Linked DNA regions of Homo sapiens: region 2 is linked to region 1. The links are contacts of gene promoters, found by promoter capture Hi-C in blood cells and fetal thymus (Javierre and others, 2016). All regions are on one chromosome and are shown on one strand. The core of a region is centred on a gene start or on the middle of the fragment in contact, and the rest is flanking DNA. Distances in the headings are between cores, read along the strand shown. Region 1 holds the start of PBX1-AS1 (PBX1 antisense RNA 1). Region 2 has its middle 46 kb from the start of PBX1.

What was found. The method cuts DNA at HindIII sites, captures the fragments that hold promoters and counts their contacts. A CHiCAGO score of 5 or more calls a contact.
Region 2: a contact is called between a fragment that was not itself captured here and the fragment with the promoter of PBX1-AS1 in region 1, in 1 of 17 cell types (megakaryocytes). The highest score is 5.4, in megakaryocytes.

What each region holds. Positions count from the first base shown.
Region 1 is chr1:164,772,141-164,778,364 of GRCh38, forward strand. PBX1-AS1 (PBX1 antisense RNA 1) reads right to left here and starts at 2,501. Exons shown (of 4, transcript NR_038072.1): 1 at 2,289-2,501. The region is part of intron 2 of PBX1 (PBX homeobox 1); the gene reads left to right. The HindIII fragment of the contact is 2,806 bases long and covers 2,089-4,894 here.
Region 2 is chr1:164,509,637-164,515,793 of GRCh38, forward strand. No RefSeq gene overlaps it. Among named protein-coding and RNA genes, the nearest start is that of PBX1, 46 kb to the right of the region's middle. The HindIII fragment of the contact is 196 bases long and covers 1,330-1,525 here.

The sequences.
Region 1 (6,224 bases), core at 1,251-3,750:
AAAAGAAAGATTCCTGTAGCAACAACACCTTGTAATTATGAAATACTTTCCATCACAGTGCATAACATATAGCAGATTTACTACACCAAAATTCTTTGCCGTTAGATCTTGGGGTACAGCAGTGAAATTTTCTCTATCTTTAAAAGAACATGTGGTTTAAACCCCTTTCAGGCATTTTAAATCCTAGCCAAAGGTGCAACACCGTTTACCAACTCTGACAAGCCACTCTAAAAGTGTGCTTGTTTGATGGGGCCATATCAGATATCACATAGGAAAATAAATTTGAGAGGGCTTTGCCACGAGTATGTTTATAAAACTCACAACTGGTCTGGAAAAAGAAAGGCAAGTGGCCCATTTTACAGATGGTGCTAACACACTCCAGTGCAGAGAGTGACTGTTGTCACCAGGATCACATATCAATTTGGAAAATTGTAATAGAAACCAGACTTGTGGCTTGGAGTATAGCCCCTGAAAGGGACTAGGACAGCCCACTCCCCTGCCCTGTCCTCCTTACACCTTAAAAGGGACAGTGATTGGGGACTATTGCTGCCCCGCGTGCTTTTTCAGGCAGAGATATCAGAATGAGGTCTGAAAGGATAGTTGGGTGGCCCCAGAGAAGACCTCCACGGCTGGCTAAGAGTCTGAGCATTGCTGGCAGTACTTAGCATTTAGGCTACCCTGAGTGCATGCCTGGCTCATGATAAGTGGTTAGGCCTGTCAGAGGCGGGAGGTGCCTGCTGACTCAGACCCAGAGAGGTGACTCCTACTCTTGAGTGTCTGATTTCTCAGATATGACCATATCCAGTTCTGGGCTCCAGCCCTGACCTGTTCCTTGGCTATCAGAACTATCATAAGGCCAGATCAGCTTAACTCATCTCCAAGGTAATTCTTGGTAGATTTTGGTTCCTTCTTGCATTTTGTGGCTTTGTCCCACTAAGAGCAGTTGTTCTCAGCCCTCTGTACTGGTGGCACAATTTTGAATACTGTAATTATTTTGGTTGCATTTTGGAATGAATTTAAAGTTCTCGCAAAGGATCTTCAGCTCCATGTCACTCATCAGAGCTCTTTTCTATTTTCCAGCTCTTGCATATAGGTAACACGCGCACACACACACACACACACACACACACACAGAGTTTTTCTTGATATGCTGTCTCTTGCCTTCCACTGTCAGATCGTAACCTGATAGACTGAATTGAGTGACCCACTCACACTCAGCTCAGCATTCCTATTTCAAACACTGCTGACACACGGTATATCTTCATGTGTACCAGCAATCAGACTGTAGTCAATTAAATTGTTTTGAAAATTAGGTTTATGCACTTATCAGTTGTTTGAGAGTCTGGCAGTTTTGGCCTTAAGAGTTCCCTGTCAAAGACTATGGCGTGAAAGATCACTGCTTTCAGGCTTCTATGCTGTGATTAAATGTGGAGAGTGGTTTTGGGGACATGTGTCTTAAGGGATAAGCTAGTGAGGAATAGGTTGGGACTGGTAGGACGAGCGGCCTGTGGCACATTTCAGAGCCCTCAACCGTACCCCACACTGCATGGGCCATGACTCTCTCTTCACCCATGGATCATCTCTAGAGGGGATTCATGATGTCACCTGGAGTCTCTGCTCTCTCCAAGTGTACTGGAAAGGATTGGGTGTTGGGAAGGCATTGGAAAGCTGGTATTAGAAGAGTTAGCTGGGGAGAGATTTGACTGAAGAGAAGGAAGCGTGTTTGCAGTGTTAACGCAGTGGATCTGCCTCAAGAGGCCCAGAACTTAAGAAAGCCAGGAAGCTATTTTTCTACGACTCCCCATGTTAGTGAAGGCAATTTTTTAACGTGATATCCACTTTGAATTCTTTGATCTTTAAGAAATATGAGTAAGAGAAAAGGATAGATGGCAAGATAGATGAGGAACTTCAGAGGGGGCTAAGATTACTTTAAGGGAAAGCTAATGAGTTGTTGAATTGTTTTACATAGTGGGGTGCTATGAATAGGATGTTAAGGAAAGTTCTTCACAAATAAATGACAGAATAAAAAAAAAATAAACCTAACATAAGACAATTTTCTTTTTCAGCAAGGCACAGGGTTCTTTGGGAAGCTTCAAAAAATTCAAAAGTCATAGTGCCTTTTTTCATGGAATTCACTAAGTAGAGACTTTTTTGTAGGCATATCATTAAATGCTGGACTCTCAAGTTTTCGAAATGAGAAGTCTCCATCTGGGAGGTATAAAAGGAAACCCCCATCTGGTTGGTTTTAGCATCTTCAAGGTGAGGATACAATTCTTAAAATTGTCTACCTATTTCTGAGTCCTGGTTCAAATTCCTTTGTGATGTCTATGTCAGCTGGGACCCTGTAGGCCCCACTGAGTTGCACATCACCAAGTGTGCCCATCACTGTGGTTAGAGGCCGTGGGCTGTGTACTACAGACAATGCTGTAATTGCTTCTGTGACCAAGTGAGGGCGGAGTTTGCCCTTTATGTGATGTAGGCAATATTCTATTTTTAATAAGCCAGAAAAATCTGTTCAAATCCAGTAACTTCAAGATTTTCCAAAGACTGGAAGATGTGGAGGACGTGGGCATCAGCTGGAATCTGATTTCTCTCCCCTCCACACTTGCTCTTCCCCATTTCTCAACTGCTGTCTCCCAGTGTAATTACCATCTCAAGCATTTTCTGTTCGTCCCCTGTAGGTACACCACATCGTGCCAACAACCCATGGCCCAGCAGGAATATACAGTAGCCTTTGCCAGGGTCCACCAGGGCTTGATTACACTTCACGGCTGTAATTCAAGCCTGCTAATCCTCCTCTGCGTTCGGAAAAGAGGCCTGTTCTGTTAGATAAGCTGATTACTGTCTGGTGTGTGCTTCATGCCTAGCAAGAGTTGTTTATATGTGGAATTATTGCTGGCTGGGCTCTGTGCTTCGCTACACCGAGGAAGCTCGCTTAGGGGTCAGGGGTGTCAGGCTTCACCTCTGATCTGGGAGGGGTGAGAAGTGGAGTGTTGATTACAGCTGTTTTTCTCTCAACCTCTGTGCTGGTGGCTAAATATTTACTTTTCTCTGTTAACGGAAGGAGCCAGATAAGATTTTAAGAGTCTGAGACTTTTGCCCCTAGGACCCACTGTCAAAGATCATAGAGTGAAAGATCACTGCCCCAGACTTGCCACATTCTGATTAGGTTTGCAAGGCGATCTTAGTGGTCTTTTTGTCTTTAGGGCTACGTTAGGGAGGACTATGGCGGGACAAGTTGAGTGTGTGGTGAAATCAACAGCCACAGATTGAAGAGTGCCCGACCACAGGGAAAGGATGCCCGCAGAGACCATGTGAATGCTTTCTCACACTCAAAGATGTTTTCTTCAAAGCCACAGAAGCCTTGAAACCACCTTTGCCTCTGCCTACCAGCCCATCTCTGGTCTGGTGTGGAGCTTGTGGCTTGGGTGCAGTCTACGAAGCCCTTGCTCTTCATGGAGGAGGAAGTGCATTTTGTTATAACCGTCTGCCCAGTGATGTTGGCGTGATTTATGCTGGCTGCACTCTCAGGATTCCCATCCCTTTTGCGGGGTATTTTGTCCCCAGATGCAGAGCTGAGGTTCTGCTTAATACTGGCTTTTAAGTGTTTAAGCCCTACAAATGGCTATTCGGTTTAATGGTGTAAGGATGGGGTGAGTGCTGAAACAAGTACAGGTAAACACAAGCACCTGGCCCTTGTCACCTGCTGCATGGGCATACATTGGGGTCTGTTTGTATATTTGAATATGTGGCAGTCTACACTGGAGTAAGGAAATAAGGATGAATGTCAAAAGGCTTAATTGTGATGATATCACAATTGAGGCCATTTGTTGAGTAAACTTCCTCCACATCTCTGTATACTAATAATCGGTTTGTCAGCTTTTCTCTATGACACTATCATTTCCTTTAGGGCAGGCACTTTGTCTTTCATTTCTGTGACCGTTACCTGTCTGGCCCATAGTAACCAATCAAGGAATGGGTCTTTGATTTAGTGTATGAATAATTAATAGATTTCAGTGAAGAGGCAGCCTATCCTAGATTGAATGCGCGGTATAAATTGTTAGGTATTTATCATAGCTCATTGTACGTGGGTTCCTTCCCAGGTACCTTTCTTGCCTTTCTTTCTAGGAAGCAGAGAATCCGCATCCCCAGAAACATGGGTGTTCCTTAGGTGTAAAGGGCATGGCCAGCTAAAGGCAGAACAGAAAAGCTGCTCTGGAAGGGGTACTGGGCGGCTGTGGCATGTGATTTAGAAGGAAGGGGTGCTGTGCTATGTCCTCACTGCTGAGACATCTGGGCCACATAATACCTCTTGATCCACAAATATCTTGAGTGTTATCTCCCTCTTTTCTTTTGCCATTCCCACCCCTCTTTTTCCTTTTTGAGTCCTCTTTGTTTTTCATCTAAAGTGTTCTCTTCCCTTTGCCTTTTCTAGGGAAATACTTGTCCCTTAAAGATCAGCATATTCTCCAAATGGATGAATTGTGCCCCAAGGGGGATTTCTTTTCCTAGTGACTTTAATTTCTAGTCTTAGAACATATCCAAAAGGAAACACAGAAGTGCAAAGTTTTAAGCCTAACTTGAGCAATAAAAGATTTCTTTTCTGTGCAATGATTAACTTTCCCTTCTTTAATTTCAAGAGGTTAATGAATCTGTGAGCTTAGTATACTTGTCATTGTACATATGGCTTGTCATTGTATGTATGGCTGGGCTAAAATTTAATATTGAATCTCTGCAGTAAATCTTGTGGTTTTACATTTGTGTGTGTGTGTGTGTGTGTGTGTGTGTGTGTGTGGTGGGAGGAGAGAGAGAGAGAGAGAGAGAGAGAGAGAGAGAGAGGAGGTGTGGGGGGGCGGGGGGCTGCCATCCAGAAGATGGAGGTACAAGTAATGGAAGCTTTTTTTCTTCTCCCTACATATGAACTGAATAAATGCTTGGCCGTCAACAGAATAATAGTTTCGGAAAACCACACCTTGAAATTCACCTTAGCATCTTTGAAATAATCTCAGGAGGGACTGGGCATGGTGGCTCATGCCTGTAATCCCAGCACTTTGGGAGGATCAGTTGAGGCCAGGAGTTCAAGACCAGCCTGGCCAATATGGCAAAACTCCGTCTGTACTAAAAATACAAAAACTAGCCAGGCATGGTGGCACGCACCTGTAGTCACAGCCACCTGGGAGGCTGAGGTGGGAGAATCGCTTGAACCCGGGAGGCGGAGGCTGCAGTGAGCCAAGATCTGGCCACTGCACTCCACCCTGGGCTACAGAGTGAGACCCTGCCTCAAACAACAACAACAAAATCTCAGGAGGTTTTAAGGGTCGAGAGATGAACAGCAAGGCTGCATTCCAGAGACTCTGACCATAAAGCTAAACTCTGAGCATTTTCTCACAGGATGTAATCACTGACTATGGTATTTCAAAAGTCTAGGGTCCTGCCACTGTCACAGGACTACAGTAGTAGCAAACAAAGGAGGGCGGAATTAAGAAAATCTCTGCTTTTTATTCTGTTCATAATTATTTACATCCCTGTCACTTAAAGGCTGGATAACTACCTGTCTGATCTCCAACCTGTTGTTGCCATCCTGTCCTCAGTTTTGCAATCAGCAGCATTGTTTGAATGTTTACCTAAAGCAGAAATCTCTTAGTCTATACCAACGTCAGTTCCCTGGGATTCCCTCTAGAAGAGGAAAGAGAACTATGTGAACATAATTCACATTGGTTTGCAGAATCTTAAAATTAGCTAGTTTACTTTAGGCTGAAATGACTCCATAACCTTCTGGTTTTTTGCAGGAAAAAGAAGTATACATTATATATACCTTTGACAACCTTGATACAAGTGTTAGATGCTTCTTTCATTGGAAACCTTCAAAATGCCTTTCCTCTCAGTTTTTCTGAGCCCACCTGTTATTTTGGTTACATATGAAGGTAGGGAGGTGGCCCCATAATTCTGGTTGGCAAATTGGGAACAGAGCCTGGAACTGGAGGATATCTCCTGCTGGGTGATGCTGAACATTAAGACCAAGGTCTTACAACAGCAACTCAGTGCTATTCATTACCAAACAGATCAAAAACTGGGTAACTTTTGTTTCACTTCCATATCTCCTGTCCCAAAAAGTGAAGTCAAATTCAGCATTAAAAAAAAGTGTTTGCACAACTGTAATTTTTGATGGTGTGGTGTAGAAACAAATACCATGTCTGTTTGGTTTGCTTTAAGACATAATAGAC
Region 2 (6,157 bases), core at 178-2,677, 260 kb before region 1:
TTAAGAAGGCTGAGATGTCCCATGATAGGTCATCTGCAAGCCGGAGAACAGGTGAGCTGGTATCATGGCTCAATCCATACCCAGAGGTCTCAGAACCAGGGGAGCTAATGGTGTGACTCTCAGACTGAGACTGAAGGCCTGAGAACCTGGAGGGCCACTGGTGCATGTCCCACAGTCCAAAGACCAAAGAATCTGGAGTTCCGATATGAAAGGGGAGGAGAAAAAGTGTGTCCCAGTTCCAGAAAAGAATTTGCCTTTCCTCTGTCTTTTTGTTCTATCTGGGCCTTCAGCGCATTATACAGTGTCCACCCACACTGGGTGAGAGCGGGTCTTCCTTACTTAGTTCACTGTTTCAAGTGCCAGTCTCTTCTGGAAACAACCTCACAGACACATTGAGAAATAATGCTGTACCAGCCGTCTGGGTAGCCCTTAAGCCAGTCAAGTTGACACATAAAATTAACCCTCACAGATCTCCATTGGCCTCCATGTTTCAAATCCATTGGTCAATTCCCAGCCTCACTTTATTTTACCTATCAGTAGCAATGGACATAGGTCAGCATATCATGTTTTATGAAAAAATTTTTTCACTTAGTTTCTACCACCCCATATTTTCTGCTTTGCTTCTTACATCACAGACTACTTTTTCAGTCTCTTTTCCTACCTCCTCCTCCTCTTCCTGAGTCCTAATGGTTAATAGGCTTCAGGCCTTTAGCCTCACTCCTCAGGCCTCTTCTCTTCTTGCTGTAATCATGCCAAAGTAGTCTCACCTAGTACGATAGGCCTAAATCATCTATGTGTTTATACTTCCCATATTCATATATAGAGCTCCAAATGCTCCTCTGCTCAATAGACTTATTTATCTGCTTGCCCACTTGACATCTCTACTTGAATATGTAAATGACCTTCTGCAACTTAATAGGTCCCAAACTAAACTCTTGGCTTCCCTCCTCCTCCAAACATGCTCCTTCCAACACTTTCCCCATCAGTAGATGGCGTGAGTACTCAAACCAAAACCCTTAAAGTCATTCTTAATGTCCTCTTCCCCCCAGCACACATCCACTACATTTAATCCATTGGTAAATATGATTGACTCAAACTTCAAACTATATCCCAGATGTAGCTACTTCTCACCATCTCCATTGTTAGCATCTGATGCAAACTGCTATATTCCTTCCAGATATTAGTGCAACATCTGCCAAACTGGTCTCTCTTCCACATCTACCCACTCTGTGTCACATTGCTCCCCTAATTAAACCCTCTAATGGGTTCCAAATGACAAGAAAAACATTCAAAATACTTACTGTGAACTAAAAAGTCCTCCGTGGCCAAAGCTTCAAATGCACCTCCTTCCTCTCACCTTCCCCTCTGCAGTCTTCTGTGAGGCCCCAGAATGCGCTCTGCTGCCACACAGCCCATTAGCTTACCCCCAAAAAAGGCTGACCCTCACTCAGTATAGCAACTCACCATCAGAATGAGCCAAACAAAGGAATAAATATATCCCCTCTGGGCCCTGACATAATGGGGAAGCTTAATCCTCAGCTTGGTAAATGCCACAGCCACAACCATGACCAGCTGAATCTTCAAGGCAGATCAAATGACTTTCAGGGATGGTTCTGAACAAGTCCCAGCTGGAGGGCCAAGCAGTTTTGTGAAAGACCGACTTTTCTATACAACAATTATGAAAATTCTCTTCCTCGCAATAATTCTTTGCATTTGACCACTGTCCATAGCTGAGGCTTGGAGAAAGTCCCATGGTGAGGAAAAGGAATTGCTAAAGTGGCTTAGGATTTCCGGCTTTCACAAGTTATCATCTTCAAGCTTACAGTCTGTCTCTTCCCCTGTGATCTGGGGTCTTTGTGACCTCAAGATAACTGACTTCTAGATTAGCCTCAAGACTTCCCCACTCTGACTTCTCTCACAGCCACCTAAGGTTTTACTGACATGCCTCAGCCCTGCCCCGTCCAGGCTCAGCCCCAGAGGTGTTGAGAGTTAGACATTTATCATACCTAATAACTTAAAAAAAAAAACTGGCTATTTTGAAATCATGAAGATATAGGTACCTTTAGGGGTGATATTTGCCAATTTCATGGTAAATACATTAGTGTATTTCTTGCCAGTTCACAGTACATGAGTAAAGGTGATGTCTGAGATTAAGAGGCAGTTGTTTGCTATCAGAACAAAGCAAGTTAACTACTACACAAATAAAAATAAAATGATCCTGATACTACATAACAAGTACTGAAGCTGGGAAGCCAAATTCAAGCTCAGGCTCAAATTCAGTTTCCTTACAAATCTTACTCAAATTTGTGCTCATCCACCTTTTGGGCATATACAAATTCTTACCTCTACATTGCCACGGAAAATCTCTCAGAGAAGACCTCAAGTTTGGCCAATCGATCCAGGTTAATGGCTTTGATATTGAAACCCTGGAATCCAGCTAGCAGTCATTAAATCAGAAAACAGTAACAAAGAAATAAATAAAATAGTCGAGAAACTTGTAACTATTGCAATATAAATTTAAAAAAAAAACAAACGAATCTTTACTTCCATGAATCTCAAAGTGGCATTTTTGAGGATGAAATCATTGAACTTCGCAAGCCTTACCTTGACTTGAACATGAATCATTCCAACACATCTCTAAGCAGCTGTCAGTTACTCTAATTTCCACCATGCAGAGAAAGAAATTGAGGTATCTCACAGAGGTAGGGTGCCTAACTCACAGCCACACGGCAAATTGTGGGCAAAATTAGAATCAGAATCCCAGCCAACTAATCTGTGATTATGGAATCAATCTGCCAAATGATGCAAGATGTAATTAAATAAACGCCTATGCACATGGCACTGTGCATTTAGTAGGCGCTCAATAAATTTCATGGAATGAGTGAATGAAAACAAAATGCAAAACAAATATGTTACACTATGACCTTAACCAAGTGTGCTATACTAAGTTCCTAAAGAAAGAAGATTAGAACTGGCATACACAGGAAAAACCTAGAGGGATACTATCTATATCTAATGTCAGTTCTGCCTCCTTTCCTGAGAACAAGATCCGTTTGCCCATCAATCCAAGCAGATTCATCCTTCTTCCAGTTACTGAGCGAACTTACACAAGTGAGCTTTTTTTTATGCCATGTTAAGGGTTGGCTACTTCTCTCCCCTGAAACTTCAGGGAAGTAGGAGGAAGTCCAGAGACCACCAAGAAAAGAGCACTTTTAAATTCAGATATTGTAAACATGCTGTGTCTTTTCCTTCTTAATTGTTGCTTTGGTGTTTTGCTATGTTTCAGTGACTGCCTGAAACTGTATGGCTGTTATTACCAGTTATGCCAAAAAAAATCATAAGTTCCTTTAGAAGCTGACAGATAATATATCCTGTGTGGATCTTTCCTGGGTGGGGGGGACCTTTCTGGTGCTAAAGTGTCACATGACCATAAATACTCCTTGGCTACACCTTTAATTTTTTTTTTTTTTTTTTGGTTTTGTTTTTTTTGAGACAGGGCCTGGCTCTGTTGCCCAGGCCAAAGTGCAGTGGCTTGATCTCAGCTCACTGCAACCTCTTCCTCCCAAGCTCAAGCCATCCTCCCACCTCAGCCTCCCTAGAAGCTGGGACCACAGCCACCACACCTGGCTAATTTTTGTAATTTTTATAGAGACGTGGTCTCACTTTATTTCCCAGGCTGGTCTTGAACTCTTGAGCTCAAGCAATCCACTCACCTCAGCCTCCCAAAGTGCTGCGATAACAGGTGTAAGTGACTGTGCCCAGCCTAAACTATTAAATGTGATGGCTATCCAGTGATATACTTTGACATTCTTTCTGTTGTTGTTTTGATTTTTTAGTAATGGAATATTTTATTGTATTATTTTTATTTATTTATTTATTATCATTATTACTGAGACAGGGTCTCACTCTGTCACCCAGTCTAGAGTGTAGTGGCGTGATCACAGCTCACTCATGATCATGGCAGCCTCAACCGTCCTGGGCTCAGGTGATCCTCCTGCCTCAGCCTCTCAAGTAGCTGGACTACAGGTGCCTGCCACCATGCTTGACTAATTGTCATCGTTTTTCATAGAGATGGGGTTTCACCATGTTGCCCAGGCTGGTTTTGAACTCCTGGACTCAAGCCATCCTCCTGCCTCAGCCTCCTGAAGTGCTGGATTACAGGTGTGAGCCACCATGCTCGGCTATTTATTTATTTATTTATTTATTTATTTTTAAAGAAACAAGGTCTCCCTCTGCCACCCAGACTGGAGTGCAGTGGCACATTCATGGCTCACTGAAACCTTGAACTCCTGGGCTTAAGCAATCCTCCTGCCTCAGCCTCCCCAGTAGCTGTGACTACAGGTGTGCACTACCACACCTCGGTAATATTTTTTTTAATTTTTTTAAAGACAGGATCTTGCTCTGTTGCCCACACTGGAATGCAGTGGCTCTATCATAGTTCACTGTAACCTCAAACTTCTGGGCTCCAGTGATCCTCCTGCCTCAGCCTCTCAAGCAGTCTGTAGGCACAGACTACCATGCCCACTTAACTTTAAAAAAAAAATTGTAGAGACAGGGTCTTTCTGTGTTGCCCAGGCTGGTCTCAAACTCCTGGACTCAAGTGGCTGTTCTACCTCAGCCTCCTAAAGTGCGGGGATTACAGGCATGAGCCACCACACTCAGCCAAATGGCATTTTTTTTTTTTTTTGAGACAAAGCCCCTCACTGTCACCCAGGCTGGAGTGCAGTGGCGGGATCATGGCTCACTGCAACCTCTGCTTCCCGGGTTCAAGCAATTCTCCCACCTCAGCCTCCCGAGTAGCTGGGATTACAGGTGCCCACAACCACGCCTGGCTAATTTTTTGTACCAAATGGCATTTTTTAAGCAAACATTTTGGAAACTCCTTTTGGACATTTATCTGGTAATATGTAGAGGATCTATGTTTTTTGGTCCTCTTTTCACCAAAAAAGTGGTCCCTTGCAACTTCTTCCTCATAATGTGGAACCATGATAATTTCCTCAACCAGACTTGACGTAGTTGACCAAAAATAATCCCCACTGAAGAACAAATTACCTTGCATTGTGAGTAGGTTATCATCATAACCTAAAACAAAAGAAGGTATTAAGCCCTCTGGAAAACTAAAGAAAACTCAATGGACTACGGGGAGAAAAGCATTCTGCTGGTTCTTCCCTGTCCAGAAACCTTTGAGATCCGCTTGCTAATCACCTGTGTTCCAGTGAACATTTTCTAACAAACCTTATTAGGCTGAAGCGAGAGCTACATAATAACAACAACGACAACAAAAACTCTTAATTTAGCTGTTAGCCAGATTTTGTTTTGTTGGGTGCTTTACTGGAAGATTTATGGGAGCTTTTTATATCTGGTTTTATAGTTTCATAATCAAACTAATTGCTGTTAATTGATTTAGGATGTATTGGGGTGAACATAAAGCAAGCATCAGGAAGAATTAAATACAGTGTGGGCAGTTTGAGAATGGGAGTGAAGCTGGGAGACTTTTTGCAAAATAACAGTGGCATTTTCAATGGTTATTCAGCATTTTGTGCTTTTCTCAAATTTTGCTCAGTGAAGACTAATTTAGTGGGGATTTACTGGCTCTTAAAGGAAAGCCATAATAATTTCAGAAATGGGTTGCCTTCCAGGACTCTCCCTGCTGACTTAGTGCATCCAGCCTGTGCTCCAGGAGAATGGGCAGCAGAGTGAAGGTAGGGATCCCTTGGAAGGACACAGTGAGCCCAGCCACAGATGGCTGATGTCCATGGAGAGAGCAGCCTATATTTAATCAGGCATCTCGGAGTTGAGGAGTCTATGATTCAGATTCTATTTGTGGAAATAGACTGCATCAGAGTAAAAGGATGTATGAGGCTTTGCTACCCTGGTCCTGTCCCACCCCTGACACTCAAGGGGCTAGCTAGAATATTCAGTCCACAGCTCCACAATCCCCTGAGCCACTTCAGTGATTACCTTCCGTAATCATGTTCTCTCCAAGCCTCAGCTATGGACAAGTGATCAAATGCACAAAATGTTTGTGAAAAGTATATGTGATCATGTATGTGGGAATGCTTTGTGAAACCATAAAGTAGAGTAAAATGAAAGACATGACGCCGAGGAAGATAATTTTTATAACTGCTATATAGAAAAGTCAGTCTTTCACGAAACC